6 separate regions of the Homo sapiens genome follow, and regions 1, 2, 3, 5 and 6 are each linked to region 4. The links are contacts of gene promoters, found by promoter capture Hi-C in human tissues and cell types (Jung and others, 2019). All regions are on one chromosome and are shown on one strand. The core of a region is centred on a gene start or on the middle of the fragment in contact, and the rest is flanking DNA. Distances in the headings are between cores, read along the strand shown. Region 1 has its middle 65 kb from the start of LINC02493. Region 2 holds the start of LOC105374507 (a long non-coding RNA gene). Region 3 has its middle 82 kb from the start of LINC02493. Region 4 holds the start of LDB2 (LIM domain binding 2). Region 5 overlaps LDB2 (LIM domain binding 2). Region 6 overlaps LDB2 (LIM domain binding 2).

Evidence for each region. The method cuts DNA at HindIII sites, captures the fragments that hold promoters and counts their contacts. A contact is called where the count stands out against the background at its distance.
Region 1: a contact is called between a fragment that was not itself captured here and the fragment with the promoter of LDB2 in region 4, in 2 of the 25 tissues and cell types used here (dorsolateral prefrontal cortex and heart left ventricle).
Region 2: a contact is called between a fragment that was not itself captured here and the fragment with the promoter of LDB2 in region 4, in 1 of the 25 tissues and cell types used here (IMR-90 fibroblasts).
Region 3: a contact is called between a fragment that was not itself captured here and the fragment with the promoter of LDB2 in region 4, in 2 of the 25 tissues and cell types used here (dorsolateral prefrontal cortex and mesendoderm cells).
Region 5: a fragment that was not itself captured here is called in contact with the fragment with the promoter of LDB2 in region 4 in 1 of the 25 tissues and cell types used here (mesenchymal stem cells).
Region 6: a fragment that was not itself captured here is called in contact with the fragment with the promoter of LDB2 in region 4 in 3 of the 25 tissues and cell types used here (H1 embryonic stem cells, IMR-90 fibroblasts and heart right ventricle).

Annotation. Positions count from the first base shown.
Region 1 is chr4:17,120,032-17,122,876 of GRCh38, reverse strand. No RefSeq gene overlaps it. Among named protein-coding and RNA genes, the nearest start is that of LINC02493, 65 kb to the left of the region's middle. The HindIII fragment of the contact is 6,905 bases long and covers 1-2,845 here.
Region 2 is chr4:17,081,623-17,084,466 of GRCh38, reverse strand. LOC105374507 (a long non-coding RNA gene) reads left to right here and starts at 1,838. Exons shown (of 4, transcript XR_925441.3): 1 at 1,838-2,029. The HindIII fragment of the contact is 8,233 bases long and covers 1-2,844 here.
Region 3 is chr4:17,102,501-17,105,388 of GRCh38, reverse strand. No RefSeq gene overlaps it. Among named protein-coding and RNA genes, the nearest start is that of LINC02493, 82 kb to the left of the region's middle. The HindIII fragment of the contact is 3,469 bases long and covers 1-2,888 here.
Region 4 is chr4:16,897,290-16,900,113 of GRCh38, reverse strand. It overlaps LDB2 (LIM domain binding 2), which reads left to right and starts at 1,469. Exons shown (of 8, transcript NM_001290.5): 1 at 1,469-1,760. The coding sequence starts at 1,629. The HindIII fragment of the contact is 10,471 bases long and covers 1-2,824 here.
Region 5 is chr4:16,743,816-16,746,577 of GRCh38, reverse strand. The region is part of intron 2 of LDB2 (LIM domain binding 2); the gene reads left to right. Among named protein-coding and RNA genes, the nearest start is that of LDB2, 150 kb to the left of the region's middle. The HindIII fragment of the contact is 3,381 bases long and covers 1-2,762 here.
Region 6 is chr4:16,720,004-16,723,109 of GRCh38, reverse strand. All of the region lies in intron 2 of LDB2 (LIM domain binding 2), which reads left to right. Among named protein-coding and RNA genes, the nearest start is that of LDB2, 180 kb to the left of the region's middle. The HindIII fragment of the contact is 6,090 bases long and covers 1-3,106 here.

The DNA.
Region 1 (2,845 bases), core at 54-2,553, 220 kb before region 4:
AAAACTTGAATTTGCTGTGCGCTGAGTACTGCATTGAATCCGGGTGAATGAAGTGATGTGTCAGCATTGTATTAGGTATTATCAGTAATCTAGAGAAGAGATGCTTTAAGGTATACAAAAGGATGTGCACAGGTTATATGCAAATACTATGGCATTTTATATAAGCAACCTCGGCAACTGCAGAGCTTGGTATCTGAGGGGGTTTCTGACATGCACATATACAGAATGACTGTATATGTAAGGTTATTGTGATTAAAGTGTTCCTCTCTGAAAAGGTAGTCAATACAAGAAAATAATGATTATAATTGTTTATATTAGACAGCTTTACTCATTATTCACTTACTGATCCCCTTTTTGTTTTATGCCAGATCCTTGCCAAGTGCTGAGAAAACAAAGATATGTAAGATGCTATCTCTACCCTTGAGAGGCTCAGGGTCTTGTGGTCTGAGAAAGACTCATTAGCAGGCTGTTACACTAATACAGGCCCGATGCTGTGTTCAGGTGCACAAAGGGAGTGACAGGCTCCATCTGAGGGGCACTGGAGGGTAGAGAGTGCATTCCTTGTCTTCCCTCTCTAGAGAGTGAGTACCTGTGTTTCTACATATGCATAAAGCATTCTAAGTGACTGAAATAAGCAGCAGGAGTACATAAAGGCCCAGACATGATAGGATGTAGTGACTCGAGGGGACACGAAAGTTTGGAGCCTCTATGTACCTCTTTCCGCACAGACTCCTACATGCTTCCTCTCTTTACATCATGGGTGTACCAAGCAGTTCTCAGACTTGAGTGTGCATCAGAATCCCTTGGAAGGCTTGTTGAAACACAGATTGCTGGACCCCAATTCCAGAGTTTCTCCTTCAGAAGGCTGGGGTTGGGGTTTGACATTTTGCATCTCTAATAATTCCCTGGGCAATGCTGATGCTGCTTGCCAGGGAACCACACTTTGAGAACCTCTGGTCTACCACAGCAGCTCTCATCCTGGCAGCAAATTAGAATCATCAGGGGAACTTCAAAAAATAGCAGTGCCAGGGCCCTGTCTCCCACATATTTCATTTCAGTTGATCTAGGGTGATGCTCATAGGCATATTTTTGTTTAGTTTTCCTTTTAATAGACTTTTAAAAATAGCAGTTTTAGGTTCACAGTAAAATTGAGGGAAGGTACAGAGATTTCCAATAACCCTGCTCCTCCACACATGCACAGCTTCTCCCACTATTAACACCCCCCACCAGAGTGTACATTTGTTATGGTTGACAAATTTACAATGACACATTATTATCATCTGAAGTCCAGCATTTACATTGGGGTTCACTCTTGGTGTTGTACATGCTATGAGTTTGGACAAACATGCAATCATATGTATCCACAATTACAGTAGCATACAGAATCACTATCCTGAAAATCTGCTGTGCTCTGCTTATTCATTCCTCTCTTCCCCTGTAACTCTTGGCAACCACTGATCCTTTTACTGTCTCCATAGTTTTGCCTTTTCCAGAATGTCATATAGTTGGAATCACACAGTATGTAGCATAGTTAGATTGGCTTCTCTCACTTAGTAATATGCAGTGATGTTTCCCCATGTCCTTTCACAGCTTATGGTTTATTTCTTTTTAGCCCTGAATAATATTCCATGTCTAGATGTACTACAGATTACTGACTGATTCACCTACTGAAGGACATACTGGTTGCTTTCAAGTTTTAATAATTATGACTAAAGCTGCCATAAACACCTGTGTGTATGTTTTTGTGTGAATACAAGTTTACAGTTCCTGTGAGTAAACACCAGAGAGTGTGACTGCTGGATTGTATGGTAAGAGTATGTTTAGTTTTTTTGTAAAACTGCCAAATTGTCATCCAAAGTGATTCTACAATTTTCCATTTCTGCCAGCAATGAATCAGCGTTCCTATTGCTCCACATCCTCAACAGCATTTGGTGTTGTCAGTTTTCTGGATTTTGGCCATTGTAGTAGGTAAGTAGTGGTAGCTCCTTATTCTTTTAATTTACATTTCCCTGATGACATACATCATAGAGCATCTTCTCTTATGTTTATTTGCCATCTGTACATCATCTTTGCTGAGGTGTCTTTACAGTCTTTTGCCCATTTTTCAGTTGGGTTTTTTCTTTTCTTATTTTTAAGTTCTAAGTGTTCTTTGTTTATTCTGAATAACGGTTATTTATCAGATATGTTTTTTTGCAAGTGTTTTCTCCCAGCCTGTGGCTTGTCTTTTCATTCTCCTGACAGTGTCTTTCACAGAAGAGAAAAATTTAATTTTAATGAAACTGAGTTTATCAATTCTTTATTTTATAGGTCATGTCTTTGGTGTTGTACAAAAAGTCACCTCCAAACTCAAAGTCATCTAGATTTTCTCCTATATTATCTTCTAGGAGTTTTATGGTTTTGCATTTTAAATTTAGGTCTGTGATCCATTTCGAGTTCATTTTTTTGAATAATGTAAGACCTGTGTCTAGATTTGTGTATTTATTTTTGCATGTGGATGTCTAGTTATTTCAGCACCATTTGCTAAAAAGACTATCTTTGTGCCATTGTATTGCCTTTACTTCTTTGTCAAATATCAGTTGATTTAATTTATTTGGGTCAATTTCTGGGCTTTCTATTCTTTTCCACTGGTTTGTCTATTTTTTTTTCACCAATACTGTACTCTCTTGATTATTGTCACATTTTAGTAAGTCTTGAGGTCAGCTAATGTCAGTACTTCAACTTTGTTCTTGTCCTTTAATATCGTGTTGGTTATTCTGGGTCTTTTGCTTCTCCATATAAACTGTAAAATTAAGTTTCTGGATATCCACAAAATAACTGCTAAGATGTTGACTGGCATGGCATTGAA
Region 2 (2,844 bases), core at 84-2,583, 180 kb before region 4:
TATGTACTCTTTATATATTCTTGATTCTAGTCACTTATCAATTAATTGTGTTACAAATTAATTCTTGCAGTTGGTAATTTGTTGTTTTACTTTCTTTAAGATGTCTTTAATGAGTAAAAACATCTTAAACGTCCTCTCAAATTTTTTATAATAAATAGGCATTTGTTTTAAAACAGGGAAAAATTTGTAAAATGTCCCAGGTGAAATATTTAATATACATTTCACTTTAAAAATGTGTATGCGTGTGTGTGTTTATTTGCAAGGACATATACAACAATTTTGACATGTAGTATCAAAAATAAGGTTGTAAATATTATTAAATATCTTCATACTTTTTGTGTATTTAATGTTATGCAATTAATATTTACTGTCTGGAAATTAATAATGAGATTACTGAAATTTTAGAAAAAAATTAAAATCTGGCAAAGTAAAAAAAAGACTGCTTTCTATATCAAAATAAGGTGATTCTAACACAGGCAAATAATTAGCTATATCTAATGCCTTATATAGTGAGGTCACGAACCATCATTTCAAGTATAAAACATGTAAATTGCCTTAATTTCTTAAAATACATAGCTCCAGAGAAGCCTTAAAAATAACATAATCATTGTCATTCGTTAGTATTATCATTATTGAATCAAAGAAGCTAAAGTTCAACACCAGGGCTTTATGATGAAAACCAACACAAAATAAATCACATCCACTACTTGAGCCCCACTGTGATGAGACTGAGTAGAACTTTTTCCAGAGCCAGATACACAGCTCTTTTTTTTTTTTTTTTTTTTTTTTTTTGAGACGGAGTGTTGCTCTGTCGCCCAGGCTGGAGTGCAGTGGTGCGATCTCAGGTCACTGCAAGCTCCGCCTGCCAGGTTCACGCCATTCCCCTGGTGCAGCCTCCTGAGTAGCTGAGACTACAGGTGCTCGCCACCTCGCCCAGCTAATTTTTTGTATTTTTGTAGTAGAGACAGGGTTTCACCGTGTTGGCCAGGATGGTCTCGATCTCCTGACCTCGTGATCCACCCGCCTCAACCTCCCAAAGTGCTGGGATTACAGGCGTGAGCCACTGCACCCAGCCGATACACAGCTTCTTAAAGGCCAGTTAGGAAGCACACTTCTAAATTCATATTTGGAGAAACAAATGAATTTTTGAACAAATGAATTGGTAGGCTTAGAATTTCTGTCACCACTTAGGCGTATGATATGAAAATTTATAAGACTGATCACAACCCTTACATCACACGGTATTGGGAGAGGGTGTGTCAAAAACTAATTCAGTGCATATTAGAACACACTGAGTTCAGGATTTATTAGAACTTCACATGCTGGCCCTCACTGATTTTGTTGCTAGAAGGATAATAACTATATTGCATGTTTAAAAAATGTATAACCATTGTTGAAAAGAAAAGGTCAGGTAGGAGTTACAGATTTGAGTGGAAATTTCTTATATAGTAACAACTATTGCTTGTGTAATCCATCAAAGTTTTAAAATGACTCTTGACTTCGTAAAATCACTTCATACCCGTGATAATCTTATGAAGCACAGAAGAATCATTAGTTCCAAGGAGGCAATCAAATCTCAGGAGGTGTACATTCCCGAAGAAACGTAATGGGCAAGTGATAAAGCTAGGATCAACTCCAGATCATTTTTCTCCAAATTCAGTGTTCGTTTTTTCTATCCGATAATGGAACCTAGGAATTTGGCCGATCAGTAATTGACTAAACTTCCAGGGATATCTGTTTTTTCATTTCCTAGATGTAGTTGGGACATTAATCAGTTTTATAAGAGAAATGCATTCCATTATGAAATTATTAAATGAGCTCCCCTCTTCCAGGGACAAAAAGAAGGGAGCAGTTCAGCTACTTGAAGAAACCAAATGGTATGTTGAGGCAAATTAAAACCAGAGAGTCAGTTGGAGAAGCCCGAAGAGTAACCCAGGTGTCGAAATACAGACACATCAGGAGAAAACAATGCCAGCCTCCTGCCAGGGATCTATCTTAACTAAGCATCCAATTATCTTTTGGCTGCAAGGTAAGTGGAGTCAGGGGAAAGGCAATGTCACCAGATTAAATGTGGGATGTCTGGTTTTGCGGAGCCAGCTGGGGATGGGGTGAGGGAGGAAATGCAAGCTGCATGAGTAAAGACTTACGGTTGGTTGGGTCAGATGGTCTATGTAAGGAAGTGATGAATGATACAACTAAATACAGAAAGCAAAGGCCTTGAAAGATAGCAGGAGGGCCCTTGATAAAATATATTTTATGTGGTTTACAGCTTAAAAAATAGAAGAACAAGCATCATTCCTTCATTTAGTTATTCATTGAATAAACATAAATCCACTGTTCGATGTTGGGAAATCAGAGATAAAAAACACTTATGTCGGCCAGGCGTGGTGGCTCACACCTACAGCAATTTGGGAGGCTGAGACGGGCAGATAACTTGAGGTCAGGAGTTTGAGACCAGCCTGGCTAACATGGTGAAACCCTGTCTCTACTAAAAATACAAAAGTTAGCAGGGCATGGTGGCAGGTGTCTGGTAATCCCAGCTACTCAGGAGGCCGAGGCAGGAGAATGGCTTGAACCCGGGAAGCAGAGGTTGCAGTGAGCTGAGAATGCGCCACTGTACGCCAGCCTGGGTGACAGAGTGAGACTCTGTCTCAAACAAACAAACAAAAAGAAACAAAAACACAAATACAAAAACAAAACAAAACAAAAAACACTTATGTGATCCTGAGAGAGTTCCCACTTTATGTGTAGTTGAGGAACCACATAAACAAAAACATTATAATGCACTGGGATGAGTGCAATAATAGAAGGTTGTGGAAGCACCCACGAAGGCTTGCCGAAAGA
Region 3 (2,888 bases), core at 187-2,686, 210 kb before region 4:
TCCAGCTACTTGGGAGGCTGAGGCAGGAGAATTGCCTGAACTCAGGAGGCAAAGGTTGCAGTGAGCTGAGATTGCGCCACTGGACTCCAGCCTGGCGACAGAGTGAGACAACATCTCAAAAAATAATAGTAATAATAATAACTATATATGTAAAAGCTTCACATTGCAGGTCATGTGAACTGTATCTTCAAAGATAATTATGCTGTTCCAAGTAGAGAAGAGTCAAGGACATTCTAGATAGAGGAAACAACAATCATATAGGCTCAAAGGTAGGAAAGAACATGATGTACCTGGGGGTGTAGAGAAATGGGGAGCAGGTATGCACTGTATAGGGCACAGTGGCAGGAGGAGAAGGGGGTACGACTGTACTAGGACAATATCTGATTTATTTACATTTATTTGCTTGTGAATCCATCTTTCCTACTGGAATGCAAACTCCATGAAGGTCGAGACTTTGATTTCCCCAGCATGTAGAACTCCGTCTGGCACATAGTATGGCACAGTAAATATTTGTTGATTGAATGCATGTAGAATGGCCGGTAGGCCTTGTGAGGGGAGTTGAACTTTAACCCAGAGGTGCTGGGAGGGAACTTAATTTGCAGATAAGTGGTTGAAGATTATGGTAAGATTTGAGTTTCAGAAAGATATCTCTGATGCTAGAAGAAATGATGAAGGATAGAGAATGGAATCCTGGCAATGGAAGTTGGAAGCAGCAGCTACACAAAAGTAGCTAAGAGTTTCAGAACAGAAGAGGCTATAGGCCTGTGCTTTCTGGAACAGAAGTGACCCTGGGAGCTGAAGGGAGTGCATGCTAGAACTTCAGGTTGTTTGCTGAGGCATTTGAGGTATTAATGATCTGCTCAATATTTTACAGAGAAATGTATCAAGGCTAAGAACTGTTGATTGAGGTTTTTCTTTTGTTGAATATCATTCAGTGTTTATTATTCATCTGGCATGATCTAGAAACTGTTGAAATACACATTTTTATTGATCTGCATAAACTTTTTTCATTTTATTACATAAACCATATAACTATCATTTGAGAAACAAAATCTTTCTCTACAAAAATAATAAAAAAGTGGATGTAGCATTATTTTCCTTCCTACTTAAAATTTGTCCGGAATTCAAAAGCATCATCAGCATCCCTGAGAACATGTCAGAAATCCAACATTGCGGAATCACCTTAGATGAACTGAATGACAATCTACATTTTAGGAAGCTAACAAGTGATCCATGCAAAGCTTAAGAAGCTATACTTTAAGGAATATTTACTTCAGATATTTTCCCCCCAAATGAGGCCATTTAAGGAAATTTCTATTTAAAGCCACATGAAAATATATACCTATCTTTACTTCCTAATTAAGGAAAAGTTAAAATTGAAGGCATTTGAAAAATTATAAAGGATAAAAAGCATAATTATTTATCAATGTCATTATCAAATATTTGACTGTACATGTTGGTTTGAGGTTTTGCTCAGTCCCATAACTTAACATGGTTATTCTGTGTACTGAGTTGTCACTGCCCTGCAGGCTTGAGCCCAAATGTAACACAGTTCATACACTGGAGGTAGGTTCAGCGCCCTGCAGTAGAAATGCCCAGCTGAGTCCTGCCTGGATCAGCCAAAATTATTAACATGAAAATCCATGAACATGAAAATCCATGCTTAGTGTTATAAGCCACTGAGTTTTGAATAATTAGTTATCAACCAATTAATTAATACCAATTGTGCAGATGTTGACCAATATAATATTTCTACATCTACTCAGACAAAAATATTTTATTAAAATGTATGGCCTTGAACTCAAGATGGGCACAAGTTTGCTCCACTGACAAATAGGGATGTAAACCCACCCCTACTTGGCTCCACAGCCTGTGTCTCCACCATGACACATTTGCCTTCTCTGAAGTTTATGCTGGATGTGGTTTTCTACTGATGTGCAATATTATGGTGATGCTGTAGTAAAGCACTGTTCCAGTCGGCCACATACATTCCATTTCTTCTCCAGTTGAGTTTTCTTCATTCTGCAAATATGTGGCATTGGAAGCTGGAAAGAGGCTACTTGGCTGAAACCTTTCTGATGGAGTCTATGTAAACATACAGAAGAAAAAATGTGTAACTAAGGTTCATATCCCTTAAAAAGAATATGTAGACAATTCAAGTGGCTGTATTAAAAGTTTCACATTCTACCACCACTTTGGTACATTAAAAGAGCTGTGAGAAACCTGACCTGCCAAAAAATGAATGGCCTTAGTATACACTTTTAGCAGTCCATTCATAAAGATTTTAAGAGGAAATTAAAACAGATTTGGGAAAATGTGCATGTATGTTTCTAATAATGCATGTAAGTACATAGACAGCATATTTGTTTTATTGTTGGCTGTACATACTCATAAAGATCTGCATAAACTCTTTTGTGTGTATGTATCTTTTCGGGGTCTATGGTGTGCCCCAGAAACTGAGTGTGCACAGTAGTAAGAGCATTGAAGTCAGAAGTTCTGAATTCAGGTTCTAGCTTTTCTACTTTTTGGCTGTGTGGCCCCAAGGAAGATACTTTTCCTCTAAGCTTCATCTTCATTCATGAAACAAGGTTAACTGATCATTTCTTGTCTACTTTAGAGGCTTATTGAAATAATCATGTAAGACTTATGATCTCATAAGGGAAAGACCTAGCATTTATTAAATGCCAGGTACATTGCTGAGCACTTGACATGCATGTTCTCATTTAATCCTTAGAACAATCTATGAGGTACTGTAGTACCAGTCCCAATTATTATATTATCCTCAATTTACAGATTTCATAACTGAGGCTCAGAGCTTAATTAAACCAAGCACTATTCTATAAATTGTAAAGTAATATTAAACAGAAAGTGCCAGTCTGACTACTACC
Region 4 (2,824 bases), core at 220-2,719:
TGAGTATTTTTAAGAGTGTAAATTGCAGAATTAGCAATACTCTATCCCCTGTTGGCTAGTGACTTGGAGATACCCAAGCCATGATTGGGGCAGAAAGTTAATTAATCTGCTTATTAAAAAGAAGAAATGTCTCATTTGCATGCATTTGCATTCAGGTCTTGAATTCATTATGCTTTTTGGTGGTCCTTTGCTTTATTTCCTTAATACCACTGACCTACCTAGGTGTTAGCTCAATACATTTAAATTTTGTGTGGCTGGGCTTTGTTTAAGTGTCGTATCTCTGGTTATAGTGGGTTCTAGCAGAATTTGATTATTTTATAGATTGTTTAATTCTCTATAGAGATTTTCCCCTTCCATGGGCTGTTGGGATTTCTTATGGTTATCATATACCACAGTTGGGAAAATATTTGTTTACTTGACCAATCTTGGAAAATACAGACTTTGTCTCCATAAGAGTTGGACATGTTATCTGGGGATGATCCATTCAATTATTTGCAATTTCCTTCTCAACCAAATTTTCCGTGGTCATTTTTGTGGCAGTTTTCTCCTTCTTTGCTTTTCCTGTCTTATTGGGAGGTCTGTTTGGGTTTTTTGTTTGTTTGTTTGTTTGTTTTTCCTTCCTGGGAAAAAAGACCATTGCTCTCCTTAAGTGTATTTTATACCTTCCACATTCAGAACGACTGTTTTTACCTGAAAATGCCCAGGCACCTTAAGGGCCTGAATGAAGTCTTTGGAGAAGAGGGAGGTGGCTGGGAAGAGGGGTGAGTGGGGAGAGATGGGAGTGAGATGGAGTGGAGGGCAAAGAATATAACAGCCCTTGGAACAACAGCAAGTAAAGCAAAACTACATAGGGAGATTAGTGCTGAAATAAATCTCTGCATGTGAGTGAATCACCGGTCCCAATTCGGGGCACCACAGTGCCCGTGTTTCTGTATTTTGTAGTAATCAACATTTCTGATACATTACAACAGTGTGGTTGTCAGGGGTGAGCGGCTCATGTAGCGGTTAGACCACCTCTATGCTAACAAGCTTAGCAATCAGGTTGTGAAGGGTCCTGGCTGGAGGAAAAAAATTAAAACCAAACCTTAGACCTCTTGTCAGACTGTGAGGAGAATTATATTTGTGAACTAGTCTACAATGTGGACAGGAAATGACCTCTCCACAAACTGCTTCTTTAAAAACAAGCAGTGGTGCCTAAAGCTATCCAGCTCCTCTCTCTCTCTCTCTCTCTCTCTCTCTCTCTCTCTCTCTCTCTCTCTCTCTCTCTCTCTCTCTCCCCCTCCCTCCCTCCCTCCTCCCTCCCTCCCTCCCTCCCTTCTTCCCTCCCTTCCTCCATACCAACCTCCCTCCCTCTCTGGAGCTCCTGCTCTCTCCCTCTCCCTCCTCTCCCGTGCTCCCTCCCTCCCTCCCTCTTTCCCTCCCTCCTCTCCTCTCCCTCTCCTCTCCTGCTATAGAGGGCTCCGACAGCAGTTCCCAGCCAGCGTGTTCAGCCTGCCTGCCTGCCTGCCTCTGTGTGTGTGTGAGCGTGTGTGCGTGCGTCTACTTTGTACTGGGAAGAACACAGCCCATGTGCTCTGCATGGACGTTACTGATACTCTGTTTAGCTTGATTTTCGAAAAGCAGGCAAGATGTCCAGCACACCACATGACCCCTTCTATTCTTCTCCTTTCGGCCCATTTTATAGGAGGCATACACCATACATGGTACAGCCAGAGTACCGAATCTATGAGATGAACAAGAGACTGCAGTCTCGCACAGAGGTAAGTACTTCAACCTTGGGGATGTGTTTGTGTATTTTTGTTAAGCTATGCATGAGCTTTTCCTAGGGTTTCTGGCTGAATTCTATGGGAAGTGTCCCACTTGATACTACCACGTACGTGGAAATGAGCGCCAGGATGAATCCACGAGTTTGGACGCTGGGTTTCCAGGCACAGCAACTCTTGTAGCAGAGGACAGTTTCTGCCGGAATCTTGAGACAACCCAGCACTTGATTCACATGCCGGGTTTCCAGAAATGTTGCTCTTCCAGAACTCTGGTGTTTTACAGGCTCTGAGTCAGTCCTGTTGGTGTTTCTTGAGATATAATTCCAAGGAATTTTGTGATTGTTTGCATCTGGCTATATATATATATACATATGTGTATATATATATATATATATATATATATACATATGTGTATATATATATATATATATATATATATATATATATATATATATTTTCTTTTTTACAAATCCTAGAGGAAGTCTGCTTTGACCTGTATTTACTTTTCAGAGTCACCAAAATCGAGGTAAAAAGGGGCAGAAGAGTAAACCTGCCTACTTCTCAGAACTAGCCCTGGAGGGACACATGTTTGTATATTTCAGTGTTAAAATCAGAAACCAGTTGCTTGGGGCAAGGGGACTCTAGACTTTCTCCTATTGCTGTCGGCCGTGCCCCCCTATCACTCTACCTTAGGACAGGAGCTGGTTCAGCTTTCAAGTCAGCTCTAGTTTTTGCATATTTGAGATCTTGTGCCTGAGAGAGGGAGACTCAGCCTCCTAGGCAGCCAGCAACTCTGGGAGCAGAGAGAACAGGACTTTCAGAACTTTTTAAATGCAAAACTCCAGACTCGCCTCCTGCAATTTAAATATTTTATGTCAGTTGACTTTTTCTCTGTGCTAGCTCAGCTGGCAGGTCTTGCTGCTGGATTGTCCATCTGCCTGTAAGTTGGGGCTTTGTGTGGAAGTGTTCGGAAAAGGAGTTTGTTATAGGTGCACCAAAGTCACTTTAGGAAGTGGAAATTGCTAGGAATTTAGTCTTCTCTGCAGAGTATAAATACCACA
Region 5 (2,762 bases), core at 172-2,671, 150 kb after region 4:
TGACATCCAGTGAGTGGGCCGCCTTGGCCTCCCAAAGTGCTGGGATTACAGGCATGATCCACTGCACCCAGCCACCTATTTTCCCATTTTTAAAGTTGCAGTTTCATTTATTACCTTTTTCCCTTTGGAAAAGAAAAAAAAATCAAGACTGTCCAATATTAGCCGTGGCTTTGGCTAAAAAGAGACAGATACAGATTTGAATTTTTAGTCCCACGTAAGTACTTCTTGCTGTGATATTATAATTTGCCAAAAAAATGGAGTCAGACACGTAGTTGGTTCTTGGTGTTTTTCAAATATGTTCAATAATGACTTACTGGATTAGTTAATAAGTTAAAATGATAAACATTCTAATAATGCTTTACAGTTTATGAAATGCTTTCATAAATCAGGACCATCTGTAAGCTTACTGAGGGTGGGGACTGTGTGTCATTCACCTTTGTAGTCACTGTGCCTGTTTCTGTGATACAGAAAGGCCCATGGTCAATATTTGCTGAGTAGTACTTGGTGACCATGCGTCATTCCATCATCAGTACAAACCTGGGAGCAGGTGTCAGATTGATCATTAGTGTTGAAGAGACGACAAAAGCGAGGCCTTCAAAGATGCAGAATTCAACTCTTCTGCCATATAGGCCCATACTGTGTACCCTTTACCATCCCACTATTCAGAACTTTTTTTTTTTTTTCAACAATAGAGAATCTTTAAACGTGACCTGTTTGGATTAAAAAAAAATTCTAATGTCTTACTCTGGATCCTGGACACTTACCTCCTTCTCTCCTCATTTGCTCCTCCCAGAAAGAGCACAGGTTAAGCATAATTAGTTCTTCGTGGCAAATGTGTACCTGCAGCCTGTTTTTCTTATTGTAGTTAAGTGTGGATTGCTGAAATCCCTTCGACATTGCTGCTATGAAGCTGACATTTATAAATTTTCTTTCTTAACGCAGTATGGGGTCCTCCATATGTCTTCCACAATAACTCTCTGTGTTTTCAGGGAATCTAAAGATTTATTTCCTTCCAAGTCCTTGTTGCTGGCATTTTCTCCAAGCCTCCAAAACTGCCAGGAGATGAACTTCAATTTAGAGGAACTGTTACATTTGTCATTGTGAATTTGCTAAACTTTGGATAAATTTGAAGATTTATGCTTATTCGCAAATGGGCCCTGAGAATATCTTTGGAGCTCAGAAAGTTCACGCTTGACTTCCTTTTCACTGTTCTAAGTAAACGAGTTCTTAAATCCCCGCAGTCTCCCCGCCTGGGCTCTGGGTCTCTGCCATTGCCTCAGCCTGCATTCATTTGGACCAACAGGAACTGAGATGTGACTTACCTCTGAGGTGTAGAGGAGGAGGGCCTTCTGCCTGCCTTGTTCTGTGGAAATCACATACTCAGTCTGTATTTCCAGGATGACCCAATTAGAGAATGCCTTACATAACCCCTCACTTTAAAGGCAAATAGCCCAGGCTTGTGAGTCAGACAAGCTTGGCTTCAAATCACGACCCTGTCCTGCAGTTACCATATGACCTCGGATGTTACACCTAATTTCTCTGAGTCTCACCATTTTGATCTGTATAATGAAAATAGTGTCTATCTGACACTGTTACTATAGTATTTGTGAGTAACATACATACAATCCCTGATACACAGGAGTTTTTCAATAAGTAATAGCTATTATAATCTGTATTTATATGTACAGCTAACAAACCAAAAAATTGACTTGGCTTTGACTTGCTCAAGGCAACCCAGCTAGCTGGTAATAAAGTCAGGATTCAAATTAATGTTTCCTAATTCTTCATAAAACACGTGACTTGGCTGGGCGCGGTGTCTCAGGCCTGTAATCCCAGCCCTTTGGGAGGCCGAGGCGGGCAGATCACGAGGTTAGGAGATCGAGACCATCCTGGCTAACACGGTGAAACCCCGTCTCTATTAAAAATACAAAAAAAATTAGCTGGGCATGGTGGCGGGCACCTGTAGTCCCAGCTACTTGGGAGGCTGAGGCAGGAGAATAGTGTGAACCCAGGAGGCGGAGCTTGCAGTCAGCTGAGATCAAGCCACTGCACTCCAGCCTGGGCAACAGAGTGAGACTCCGTCTCAAAACAAAAAACAAGCAAAAAAAAATCACGTGACTTGGCCAGGTGCAGTGGCTCACACCTGTAATCCCAGAACTTTGGGAGGCAGAGATGAGTGGATCACTTGAGGTCAGGAGTTCAAGACCAGCCTGGTCAACATGGTGAAACCCTGTTTCCACTAAAAATACAAAAATTAGCTGGGCATGATGGCGGGTGCCTGTAATCCCAATTACTCGGGAGGCTGAGGCACGAGAATCACTTGAACCCAGGAGGCAGAGGTTGCAGTGAGCTGAGATCCAGCCACTGCACTCCAGCCTGGGTGACAGAGTGAGACTGTGTCTAAAACAAACAAACAAACAAACAAACAAACCACATGAGTCTATTTATTAGTAACTTGCTAAAGTTTCCATACTCTCATTTTCATTTTAAACAGTCTAGAAGAAACCTAGTTTACAAGGACCACATATCATATTTTGTTCTTTGAATCATCTTCAAAATATTTTAGAGCCAAGTATAGGGGGAAGTGTCATTAACTGCCTTGATTTTAGTGATGTGTAAAAAATTGGAGACAATCTATTTGATAGGTATTTTAGTTTTCGATTGCAGAATATCAAATTACCAAAAACTTAGTGAATCGAAATGACACACATGTATTATCTCACAGTTTACCTGCATCAGGAGTCCAGGCTAGGTTGCTGGGT
Region 6 (3,106 bases), core at 382-2,881, 180 kb after region 4:
TCTGTGCAGCTTACATGCTATATTAAACACAGTACAGATGCTCCTTAACTTACTGTGGAGTTACATCCGGAAAACCCATCATAAGTTGAGTACACTGTAAGCCAAAAATACACTTTCAATTTATAATATTTTCAACTTATGAGAGTTTATCTGTATATAACCCTATCAGAAATTGAGGAGCATGCTAAATATGTATTGCTTTCACACCATTGTAAAGTCAAAAAATCATAAGTGGAACCATCATAAGGTGAGGACTGTCTGGGCCTTCTTGCTGTTTCTCATCATGCCAAACAGACCCTACCCTCAGAACCTTGAGTTTTCTGTCCTCTTATAAACAAATACAGTATTTATTGATTACCTATCATGTTACAGCTTCTTGGGTCACACAGAGATGAACAAACCATGGTCCTGACGTAGGAAAGTTGGCAATCAACTAGATAAGAAAGATTGGATAAAGACAGTATGGTGAGTGCCGAGAGAAGAATTTAAACCATACTCACCTCATTTAGGATACGATGGCATCTTTGCCTAGGGCACAAAAGAGATGACAGTTGATACACATCTTAAAGGATGAATGTATTCAAATGGAATTTCCTTCTGAGGCTAGCCCTTTAAAAATATCTGCTTAATAGATATTTTGCTATATTGTAGAATCACAGAAAAAAAGGAGCTAAAGGGTCCTGAGAGGTGTCCTGAGAGGGCACCCAGTTCATCTCTCATGTTTTCCAGCTGAGAGGCAGTGTAGCAGGTGGTTAAATGTGGGTTGGAATTCCATTTGATCCCATTAACATGACCCCTGCTGGGCAAGCTACTTTCTGTGCCTCACTTTTGTCCTCTGTAAAGTGGGTTTACTAATGGTACTTAGTTTATAAGGTTGTTGGAAGGATTCTCTGAACTAAAATGCAAAGTGCTTTTAGAAAAACAACCAAAATACATGGAAGAAAGCTTTCATGAAGTAGTAGCTGCTACTATGTTAAGAACACTGAGGCCCAGAGAAGTTCCATAATTTGCCTGCCGTCTCTTAGGTAATTATTGACAGACCTGAATCTAGAACCCAGATTGTTCTACTTTCTAATCCAGCAGCCTCTCATGGACACAGCATTTCATTCTGTCTTAAATTAGTTTATGGTATTTTAATTTTTTATTTAAACAAAATGAAAATGAATTTGAAACTTTTATTTACTTTGCCGAGCCATGGACTGTGGCTTAGAAAGTGAATGATTCATACCTTATCTCTAGTTCTCTTAAATTCTTGGAAGCATTTGACAAACATCACTGTACTTTCACCCTCTTTCGGCTTTAGATTATCTAGACTAACTGGCCTGTGCCCAACCCTATCGACAGAGTAACTGGGTAGTTTTAGTGTCAAGATGAGACAAGGAGACTTCCTCTGTGGTTAGGATCAGATCAGTGTGAGTTTCCTTTAAGAAGCAAAGTACTTTTCATCTGCTGACACTTCACAATTTAGGTTTGTTGCTCCATGTCCTATGGATACATTTGTGTGCAATAAGTTTGCCATTTTCCCCCTCAGTTTTTTTGTTGGATGATCTGAATTTTAGAGAGCCCAGGGGAAATTTTTGTTAAAAAAATGATGCTAATTTTAATGGACTCAGTTTAATTAATAATTCTAAAAAATTAACATAGATATTAAAAGTGAAAGGGAGAACCGGAATTCTATCTAGGAAGTGAATACTTTTTAAGCCAAGAGCTACTTCTTCCTGATCATAGAAAGGTGGGGACACAGAATTTAAAGACCAGAGGCAAAACATGCTGTCCCTTATATTTTGGATTATCTATCCGTTTGCTTCAGTTATCAATGTGGATAATTAAGAACTGACCCTGATTTAACTTGCATGTATTGTGTGCCTGTTTATAGATCTTTATACCCTCATGGGAGGCTATAAAAGGAAAGATAAGGTTCATTGATTTATTTCCAATTTTACAAACAGTCCAAGCATACACTTACTCAGTCATTTAAGGACAGTTTTATCAACAGTTTAAAAATATGATGGAGATTAAATATGTAAATTGCCAGAGGACATAGTTTTGGAATAAGGGAGTTTATGGTTTGTCAACTTCAGCTAACATCCAATGCTGAATTTTTTCTCTAACTTCCCTGTCAAGTGACTTGAACTTGGGCTTGCATTCCATGACAGATGGAGAGCTTTCCATCTCTTGGATCAGCCTAGTCTATCTTTAGACTGCTCTTGTGCTTAGAAAATCTTCCTTGTATTGAGAAGGATCCTACCGCTTTATAGCTTCTATCCATGAAATAAGATAACGATTTTAAAGATCTTGGTCCTTTGCTGCAACATGGTAATTCCTTAGTAAATGTTAATGACTATTAATATTACTATTATTGTCTTAGAAATAGTAGAAGTAGTGTTACATAAATATACGAACATCCATATTGCTTATTTATGGTGCATATGGTTAAAGCTTCCTAATTAAGTTAATGGGGACCTGACAAAGTCAATTGAACCAATTGACCTTGATGAGTTGAACATTGATGGTTGCCATGATGCCAGAAGATCAGAGCTGGCCTCTGTCTCTGGACATGGAGATTTGTGTTTGAACTCAGGTGTGTCAGTCAAGGTTCAACCAGAGAAACAAAACCGGTAGGAGACATATATTAGGAGAATTATTGCAAGGAATTGGTTTATGTGATTGTTGGGGATGGCTTAGCAATCTGAAAATTATTTGGCAGGCCAATGGAGATGAGCGAGCTGGAACTTTCAGGTGTGAGCTGACATTGCAGTCCACAGGTGGAATTTCCTGTTCCTCAGGAAAGCCTCAGCTCTGCTCTTAAGGCCTTTCAACTGATTTAATACTACCCGCCCCCACCACCCCTCCACCTCTCATTATCTAGGATAATCTTTCTTAAAGTCAACTGATTAGGAACTGAATCACATCTACAAAATACTTTTGAACATATACCTGGATTAGGGTTTGATTGAATTACTAGACATTAGAAACTAGCCAATTCGCACATAAAATCAACCATCACATCAGGCTCCACCATGGACTTTATATGACCATGAATGAGTTATTGAGTCTCTCTTGGCTTAAGAGAGATTATAATAGTTGAAGTTTAATAAATTAAAGG